Linked DNA regions of Homo sapiens: region 1 is linked to region 2. Evidence: promoter capture Hi-C in 16 types of primary human blood cells and fetal thymus (Javierre and others, 2016). All regions are on one chromosome and are shown on one strand. The core of a region is centred on a gene start or on the middle of the fragment in contact, and the rest is flanking DNA. Distances in the headings are between cores, read along the strand shown.

The links. Contacts are between HindIII fragments. The CHiCAGO score rates a contact against its expected background, and 5 or more counts as called.
Region 1: a fragment that was not itself captured here is called in contact with the fragment with the promoter of YAP1 in region 2 in 1 of 17 cell types (fetal thymus); the score reaches 6.2 in fetal thymus.

The regions. Positions count from the first base shown.
Region 1 is chr11:102,610,311-102,615,154 of GRCh38, forward strand. It overlaps MMP20 (matrix metallopeptidase 20), which reads right to left. Exons shown (of 10, transcript NM_004771.4): 3 at 1,445-1,593. Among named protein-coding and RNA genes, the nearest start is that of MMP20, 13 kb to the right of the region's middle. The HindIII fragment of the contact is 678 bases long and covers 3,219-3,896 here.
Region 2 is chr11:102,107,616-102,112,059 of GRCh38, forward strand. It overlaps YAP1 (Yes1 associated transcriptional regulator), which reads left to right and starts at 2,832. Exons shown (of 9, transcript NM_001130145.3): 1 at 2,832-3,554. The coding sequence starts at 3,234. YAP1-DT (YAP1 divergent transcript) reads right to left here and starts at 2,842. Exons shown (of 1, transcript NR_198976.1): 1 at 2,212-2,842. RefSeq lists silencers at 2,555-2,604, 2,615-2,744. The HindIII fragment of the contact is 4,853 bases long and covers 2,130-4,444 here.

The sequences.
Region 1 (4,844 bases), core at 2,308-4,807, 500 kb after region 2:
ATACTGTGGACTTTGCATGTGCCACAGATTACAAAAGGAGAACGACTGGGGCGGGGCGGGGCGGCGGGGGGGCGGCATTCGATAGCAAAACCTACCCCACTGATTGGAATGTGAACCTGTTAGCAGAATGACCTTTCAAATTTGATTCAGCTGAGACAGTGATAGTGAATTGAACAAGTGTGTGCTTTCTGTTTCTATAGCACAATACAGTTTAAGGAAGTGTCAAAAATCTCTCTGTAATTTTGACATACTTTCATGTGGAAAACATATGAAAGTCATAAAGGTGTTTATAAAATCCTAACTTTTAAAGCTTTTTAAGTTTTTGTTTAATTATCTATTTTAACTAACAATTCATTACAAATTTAATAGAAGAGGAGGAGGAAGAACAAAATAAGGGATATAGTTTACCACTTAAAAAAATCTTAGTAAGGATACCCAGTTTTAGTTTGTTTTTTTTTTTTAAAAAGCCGACAGAACAAAGTTTTGGTATGGCATTTCTCAGGTTTCAGTGAAATGCAGTCTACTCAGGTGCACACACCGAGGACTTCATGCAATGGCAGCACAGTCCCTGGTTGGCTTGTGTATTAGGGGACAGACTGTAAGCTTGAAAGATCAAGAGAGAGCCAGACATTCATTCCTTGGCCTTCAAAGCTACCCCGAGTCACACTGCTTTCCCTGCCACTTCACCAGGGGTGGCCTTTCTCTTCTGGGAGGAATAGGACATAACCTGGGCCAGGTCACGCCCAGGGCCATTTCTAAAGGCTTTATTCTCAGGACTTGCTTGATCTTCTTTTTTCTAGCTCCTAAGCATGTTTTCCCCCCAGTGACATCAGATTAAAATTAAGATCTGGGCTTGAAATGACAAGGACACTAGAAATGTTATCTGAGGAGGGTGAGCAATGGAATGGAGAAGAAGTGGGAAAGTTGGAGGCAGACCTCTTGCATATCTCCCAGAAGGTGGTCTGCAAGTGTGGGCAAGACAGAAACGATACTTTCCTAACCATTGCTGCAGGGGGAAAGCTGCTTCAAGGTCACTGTGGAAGGTATTTGCTTCAGTGAGGATTCATGGTAGGATATCCTTGGCTAATATAGAAGGGGTTATATAAGTGATAAACACTATCATGGGAATGGATGAGGTCATGTGGCTAACGGGAAAGCAAAATCTGCAAGAATTTGTCCCCTAGTGGGGCAAAGTCATAATGAAAGTTTGTTACAGTGAATCTACTCTACAGCTGTGTCTGATGATGACAAGACATGCTAAGAACTCCTTTGGTTCTATTTTCTGGCCAGATGAAGATCATGGCTTTGCCATGGTCTTGGCCTTGGCCCATCACAGCACTGTGCGAAGGAGGAGTGTGTGATCACTCGAATTAAAGATGTAGAAGGAACAGTATTGGGACAACTCTCCTTTGAATTAGTAGATGGAATCCAAGTACCACAATACCTCCATTTTCAAAAGATATCATAATATCCGCTTCTCCTGAGTTTATTCTGACAAAGCTCAGAGGGACGGCGCTACTCCAGGCCTGCAAGGCCATCTCCACTGCTTTGTCCACCTCGACAGAACTCATGGAAGGTGTGTATTTAGATATTCTGTGAAAACGGAAGGAACATGTTTTCTTTTCAGTAACTGCTCCGAAGAAGGCAAGAATTATATGTTGTATTCAAAAAATGTTAAATGTAAATCTACAATTTAGATTTTTCTCTGAAATAATAATTCTTATTTTGCTTTATTATATGTTAAATTTCTGCATATGAAACAACAAGACAAATGAAAGGGAGAGATGAGAGACAGTTGGGATAATCCGGTACTGAAACCATTTAGCTTTCATTGTTATTATACTACCACCGACTTAAAAGAATAAAATTTGTGGCCGGGCGCAGTGGCTCACGCCTGTAATCCCAGCACTTTGGAAGGCTGAGGTGGGAGGATCACTTGAGGTCAAGAGTTCGAGATCAGCCTAGCCAAGATGGTGAAACCCCATCTCTACTAAAAATACAAAAATTAGCTGGGCGTGGTGGTGCAAACCTGTAGTCCCAGTTACTTGGGAGGCTGAGGCAGAAGAATCATTTGAACCTGGGAAGTGGAGGTTGCAGTGAGCCAAGATCGGGCGACTGCACTCCAGCCTGGGTGACACAGTGAGACTTCACTCAAAAATAATTAAATAAATAAATAAGATAAATAAAACTTGTGAAATGTTACAGGTAGTAAGTAGTCAATTTTTCTTAAAGTCGTTTTCATTGAGAGAGGACCTCTTTTTCCCCAAAGGGACTGGATGTTTTCAATTATAAAAAATAGAAATGTGGAGTTTTGAAGTTTTGCTAATTCTTATTCAAAGCTCCTCAGGATTTCCCCAGGGCTATTGGGGAAGGTTTTTTTTTCCCTCAGAATAATGCATTCTTTTCTTTTTTCTTTTTCTTTTCTTTCTTTTTTTTTTTTTTTGAGATGGAGTTTTGCTCTTGTCGCCCAGGCTGGAGTGCAATGGCATGATCTCTGCTCACTGCAACCACTGCCTCCCAGGTTCAATTGATTCTCCTGCCTCAGCCTCCTGAGTAGCTGGGATTATAGGTGCCCGCCACCACGCCGGGCTAATTTTTATATTTTTGGTGGAGACGGGGTTTCACCATGTTGGCCAGGCTGGTCTTGAACTGCTGACCTCAGGTGATCCGCCCTCCTCAGCCTCCCAAAGTGCTCGGATTACAGGCGTGAGCCACTGCCCCCAGCCCAAAATAATACATTCTTAAAGAGGAAGGGCTAGCTTTAAAAACGGAGGCTCACTGGAATTGAAAAAAGGGTGAGCCTTTCAGCAATTACTGGTGTGACGATGACACCTGAAGGCAGAAAAATGTAGTGCTTTTTGGACTGTGGGTGGAGTCAGAGTTGGTGATTGTTAGAACTTTCTGCTCTGAAGCCCAGGGTCTGGGGATTTCTGGCAGCACACAAAGGAAAGGCAGGGAGGGCAACTTCTACCCGAGACCTTGGGCTGGGCTGGAATATGATGCAAAGTGAGAAGCTGTGTCTGTGAGAGCCAACCCCATGAGCAGGGACCGGCCCTGCTTTCTCTCTCTCTCTCTAGCTCCTAGTTTAGTGCCTTGCACATAGCAGATGCTTAGCAATTGCTTGATAAATAAATGAATGAATTAAAGAATTAAAGCTAGCTGTTTTAGGGCCCACTCAGTGGCTCTCGAAGTTTAGGACCTGTGATAATTACCTAGGAAGCTTGTTAAAAATACAGGTATGATCCAGAAATCTGTGTTTTGAAAGGTATCTTAGGTTATTATAATGCAGATGGTGCAATTTCAATGAGAAACCAACAGCAGTAATCCTAGGGTCCCAAATGAAAGGACTGTGCCCACAGAAAGGATAGCAAATAGCTCAATTCAGGACTTGAGAGGGAAGGAACAAGGAGCTCTTTAACCCCAGGTTTGGGGCCAAAAGAAGAGAGCTATAGAATTGAAGGGGGATACCAGACAGACCCTTAAAGGGACTATTTAATGCTTTCAAAATATGCCAAGCCCACTGCATAATATGAGTCTGCAATTTATCACAACTAGGTGGACTTAGTACTTTGACATGCCCTCGCATTTTTGGTAAGTCAGCCATATCTTTGAGCTGACTTTGTGTGTTGGCCTGGAGAAGACAAGGAAGGAGAGAGGGATAGCACCAGAGAAGAAGAGAACATGGAAAAAGGGATCCCCGAATCAGGGTCTGGAGCTTGATAAAGCAATAGTAATACTAGCCAATATTCTTTGAAGTCACACTATGTGCTGTTGCTGTATGCACTTTTTAATGTGGCATTTATCTAATCCTCACTTCGACCCCTAAGAGGAAGATCATCATCATCATCTACATGTTATGATTAGTCAGGTTTGAGCCCAGTTCTGTCTGACTCCAAAGCTTATGCATATAAGCACTATGCTGTATTTTTTTTCCTTTTGTAATCCTCTGGGTTATGTTGTAAGAAGTTATTCTGAAAGTCAGTAGCTACACAGGCAGAGTACTGTGATAGCCTCTAGTGTCCTTTTTCATGGGGAGGCGATGGTAGAGTTATTGGGGAGCAAGAGTGGATAGGCAATGTGTGTGTTGAGGGGTTTTTAAGACTGCCCAGCTTATCACAAGAATATTATACTTCCCTAAGCATCACATTATCTTGACCCAGGCTTCTTGTCTTTGTTGTACATAGTCATGGACTAAAATTCCAGAACACAGTTTACTTTAAGAAAACTATGAAAAGACTCTGTCGATGCGTACACATTTTTCTTGTCTTATTCTTACTATTTCAGAATCACTTTTGTGTTCAACTCCTATGAGGTTTTTCTCCCCCAATTGCTTTGTTTTTTTGTTCAGCCTGCCACCTTATGGATTTATTGGCTGATAGCAGGTAACAAGTGGCCTAGGGGATTCATGACTGTTCCCTGGATTCTGGCCCCTCCTTTGATCAAATGGACTCACTGGTGTGCTGGAACAGGTTAACAAGTGGCTCTACAAGGAGAAAAAAAAAAACCCACTTGATTTGCATGACTTGCTGATTTCTGTGTTGTAAATATTCTCACTATGGCTAATTCAAGCTACCAACTTACCATCACTGAATGCCAGGTTGTGAAGAGATGAGCATGAATGAACCACTCAGATTATACAGATGTACATAGCCTCATGAACAGAGAAAATAATAAAATGTAGTGAAATAAGAGGCAATATGTTATTACCTTTATTTTTAATATAATTTAATATAATTTATTATATTAATGTAATTATTTAATATAATGTATTTAATATAATTTAATGTAATTTATTAAATAATTATACCTATTAAATAATATAACATATAATAATAAATAACGTA
Region 2 (4,444 bases), core at 1,582-4,081:
TGCAGAGTACAGACGAAGGGGCAGGTGGCTAAAGTGAAGTAGAGATGAGGGTCCATTTTAGTTGACAGGTCAACTAATTGGGATACGCATGTTTTGAGATAGTGATCTACCTGGACATTGAAAATGATCCAGGATAAGGGTGCATCTTTATACGAAGAAGGTGACTCCCTATTTTAAGATGCTGCCAACAGATAATTGGTCCACAAAATGGGCAGAAGAGGAAGGGAGTAGACAAAGGACTGAATATGTTATCTTTATCCCCTACTACACCGTGGTTGAAATTGTATAAACGAGGAATAGTAAATTACAAAATCTTGGTTGATGATACAGAAGTGCTTACAGAACATAGTCACTCCAAAGACCCTTTCACTCCACTTATCAAAGTAATTTTGTCCTCAGTTTAATGGCAGGTGAAACAATATTGAACAAAGCAGCCTCTGCTGTATCTGAAGCCCTTTAGTTAGTGTTCATAGCAGTAAATGCTCTAGTAAAGGGACAGCTTCTATTCCAATCCCAGGTTTTCAATCACTTTGGTTCTTTTTTTGAGACAGAGTCTCGCTGTGTTGCCCAGGCTGGAGTGCAGTGGTGTGATCTCAGCTCACTGCAACCTCCACCTCCTGGGTTCAAGTGATTCTCATGCCTCAGCCACCTGAGTAGCTGGGACTACAGGAACATGCCACCACACCTGGCTAATTTTTATGTATTTTTTTTTTTGTAGAGACAGGGTATCACCATTTTGGCCAGACTGGTCTCGAACTTCTGACCTCAGGTGATTCCCCTGCCTTGGCCTCCCAAAGTGCTGGGACTACAGGCATGAACCACCGCACCCGGCCCACTTTGGTTCCTAAAGTTTTCTTTCAGGTAAAGTTTTTAATGCATAGTTTCTGCCCAAAGGTTTTGTTTGTGTGGACTGATTATTGGATAAGAGAGGAAGGGACTACCAACAGGGTCCCTGAGGCTGTGCTTAGAAAGAGAGGGCTGCTGCAAGGAGAGGCTATGTTACTACCTGTGAAATAATCTGTGAACATGGGACAACAATGACAACTGACATTGATGTGGAACTCACTGCACGTCCCAAACTGGGCTAAGTACTTTATATCCATTGACTCATTTAATGCCCCAACAACTATGAGGTAGGTGTTATTACCCCTGATGCTAATATTAAAGAACAGGAAATAAATAACTTGTCCAAAACCTCACAGCTAGTAAATGGCAGAACTGGGACCTGAACTCAAAACTCTGTAACTCCAGAACCTGCAAGTCTGTCGTTAAATGCACTTGACATTTAGGAGTGGGAACAAATCCAAGAACTAGTCATGGGTGTCATTTACTCTGATCCTTTTTTTCAGACAGGAAACTGGGGGTTCAGAGTAGTTGATTGGAATCTTCTGTTAGAATTTTGAGTGTCTGAGGCCTGCTCCTTTGGCCGAGCCCTACCACACCAAGTGATACAGATCCTTCAGAATTCTCCTGGGCATGTTCTGGCTGAAGGAAGAAATTACCTTTTTGCTCACGGACTTTTTCCTTGCTTAATCCTACTTATACCTTTGTTTCACTAGCATTGTAGACAAAATCATTAAAACAAGAAAGCCAGATTTCCTTAGAATGGGCTTGTGCATTTAAAATTAGACTGATGTTGCACAATCCTATGAATATATTTAAAAAAACAGTGAATTGCTTAAATATACTAATATGTACAACTATTGCAAAAACTGTATGGTATATAAATTATATCTCAACAAGGATGCTTTAAAAAAAAAAAACCCAGAGTGTATGACTTAAAAAACATTTCTATTGTTTTTGAGTGGCTTCCAGAAGGGCTCCTTGTACATCAGGTGCCTGGGATGACCTCCTTGCCCATTCATTTCTTATTCAGTCCACATTAACGGAGTCCACCGTTGGGCCAGGCACAGGGATAGCAGGGGTAGGGACCCAGCTCCTTGAGGATGAAAGACAGGTACAGAGGCATGAATGCTTGTACCTGAAGACGCACTAATTTTTTGGGTTGCGGCTTCCAGTGACTATTGCAAATTCGAGTACTAAAAAAGTTGATGTGATTTCACTATTTGGAAAATGTAGTGTTTTTGTTTCTTTTAATAAGTTACACTGAGTTACAGACCTGGTCTCAAAGCTTCAATTACAGTAACCGTTTACCCCTCTCAAGTGAGTTTTTGCAGACTAACAGATAAGTGAAACAATTACAAAATAAAGTTAATGCTGAAAACAATGGATCTTTATTAACATCAATGCCGGCTCACGGTATCTATTTTAACTCCAATCTATCCTCGCGGCTTTAAGCTCGCACAGGCGCTCCGCTCGGTCAAGCCGGGGTAACGCGAGGAGGAGGAGGTGGGTTCGCACATCCTCTCTCCACTTCTTTCGGCCTTGGCCCTTTCGCAGGTCCAGGCGAACTGGAAGCGCCTTTCCCGAGCACGGGCGGGGAAAAGGGGCCGAGCGGAGCGGAAGAACTTCCTGCAGCCAAGGGCGCCCGCGTTCTCCGCAGACACCACAGTTCGGACCCGGATTGGACCCATCGTTTGCGGTTCGCGGGGCAGAATACGGGGCACGCTTCGGGCCCCTGCCCGGCTGAGCGCGGGCGAAGGGCGGACCGGGCCAGGGCGAGCGGGTCACGTGCGGCCGGGAGAGGCGCCGCGGGCCGGGAGTGTGCAGGAATGTAGCAACTTGCAGCGAAAAGTTTCCCTGCGCTGCCGGCCGGGCCGCGGTGCGGGCGGGCGCGCAGAGGAAGGAAGAGCCGAGAGGAGGCGGGGCCGCGGCGGCGCGGGCGGGCGCTTCTCCTAACTTTAGTTTTGGCGTTTGAGGCGAGTTTCTGTCTCAGTCGGGCGCAGCCGCCGCCAGGGAAAAGAAAGGGAGGAAGGAAGGAACAAGAAAAGGAAATAAAGAGAAAGGGGAGGCGGGGAAAGGCAACGAGCTGTCCGGCCTCCGTCAAGGGAGTTGGAGGGAAAAAGTTCTCAGGCGCCGCAGGTCCGAGTGCCTCGCAGCCCCTCCCGAGGCGCAGCCGCCAGACCAGTGGAGCCGGGGCGCAGGGCGGGGGCGGAGGCGCCGGGGCGGGGGATGCGGGGCCGCGGCGCAGCCCCCCGGCCCTGAGAGCGAGGACAGCGCCGCCCGGCCCGCAGCCGTCGCCGCTTCTCCACCTCGGCCCGTGGAGCCGGGGCGTCCGGGCGTAGCCCTCGCTCGCCTGGGTCAGGGGGTGCGCGTCGGGGGAGGCAGAAGCCATGGATCCCGGGCAGCAGCCGCCGCCTCAACCGGCCCCCCAGGGCCAAGGGCAGCCGCCTTCGCAGCCCCCGCAGGGGCAGGGCCCGCCGTCCGGACCCGGGCAACCGGCACCCGCGGCGACCCAGGCGGCGCCGCAGGCACCCCCCGCCGGGCATCAGATCGTGCACGTCCGCGGGGACTCGGAGACCGACCTGGAGGCGCTCTTCAACGCCGTCATGAACCCCAAGACGGCCAACGTGCCCCAGACCGTGCCCATGAGGCTCCGGAAGCTGCCCGACTCCTTCTTCAAGCCGCCGGAGCCCAAATCCCACTCCCGACAGGTAACCTCGTTGCCCCTCTCCCCGTTTCCCCGTCGGGCGGGCCTCAGACCGGGGGGGCGCTCGGGAGCCGCGGCCGCCAGCTCTGGTCAGGGGAGGGGGGTTGCGGGAACTCTAGCTGGGGTGGGGGTCCCGAGGCGAAGTGGAACTGGAGTCGTCCACTCCGCCGCGGTGACCAGCTCCCCACTCCTCCCAGAGTCCGGGGCTGAGATTTGTTTTTCCCTTCTGAGTTTCTCTCTGCGGTTGCAGCCCCGGGGGGCGTGCTTTCCCTCCTTCTTCCTTTCTTTCTTCCCGGGGTTCCCGAGAGGTTGGCGGGAGTGGAGGAGGGGTGGGGAGGAAGGAAGGGGGTGGGGAAAAGTCGGGCCTGGGCCGCGGTGGGCTTGCACAATGCGCGCGCCTCCGCGCGCTCCGCACCTTCGCTCCCGCCGGGCCGGGCTGGGAAAGGGGGAGGGGGGCCTCTGGCATTTGTGTGTGGGTGTGTTGCCAGCGGCGGCCGAGTTTGTGAAGTTGAGCCCTGGGCCCCTTTCCTTTGCGGCCTCTCGGTCCACTTCAGTCTCCTGGGGGAGTCAAATAATTGTTCTCTTGTTTTCCAGTGTTGATTAGAGGTGGGGGTAGAACCGGTCCATTTAGTTTTTTGCTCTTTCTTTCCTTCCCCCCTCCCGTTTCCCCTCCCCCTCCCGTAAGCATTTATTTTCCTCGCGGCTCAGGCGATTTCGGAATACAGGTTTCGGGCTTCCCCTGCCCAGACTTTCCTGGAAGTTGTTTATGGAGTTCTTTCACCCCTGCTCTTCCCTTGTGTGTTGGAACTTGGGCCGGCTTGCTCTTATCAAACTTAGTAGGTCGCGTGTTGGTTTCCCAGTTGTAGACTATTATTTACAGTCGGCTGAAACGCT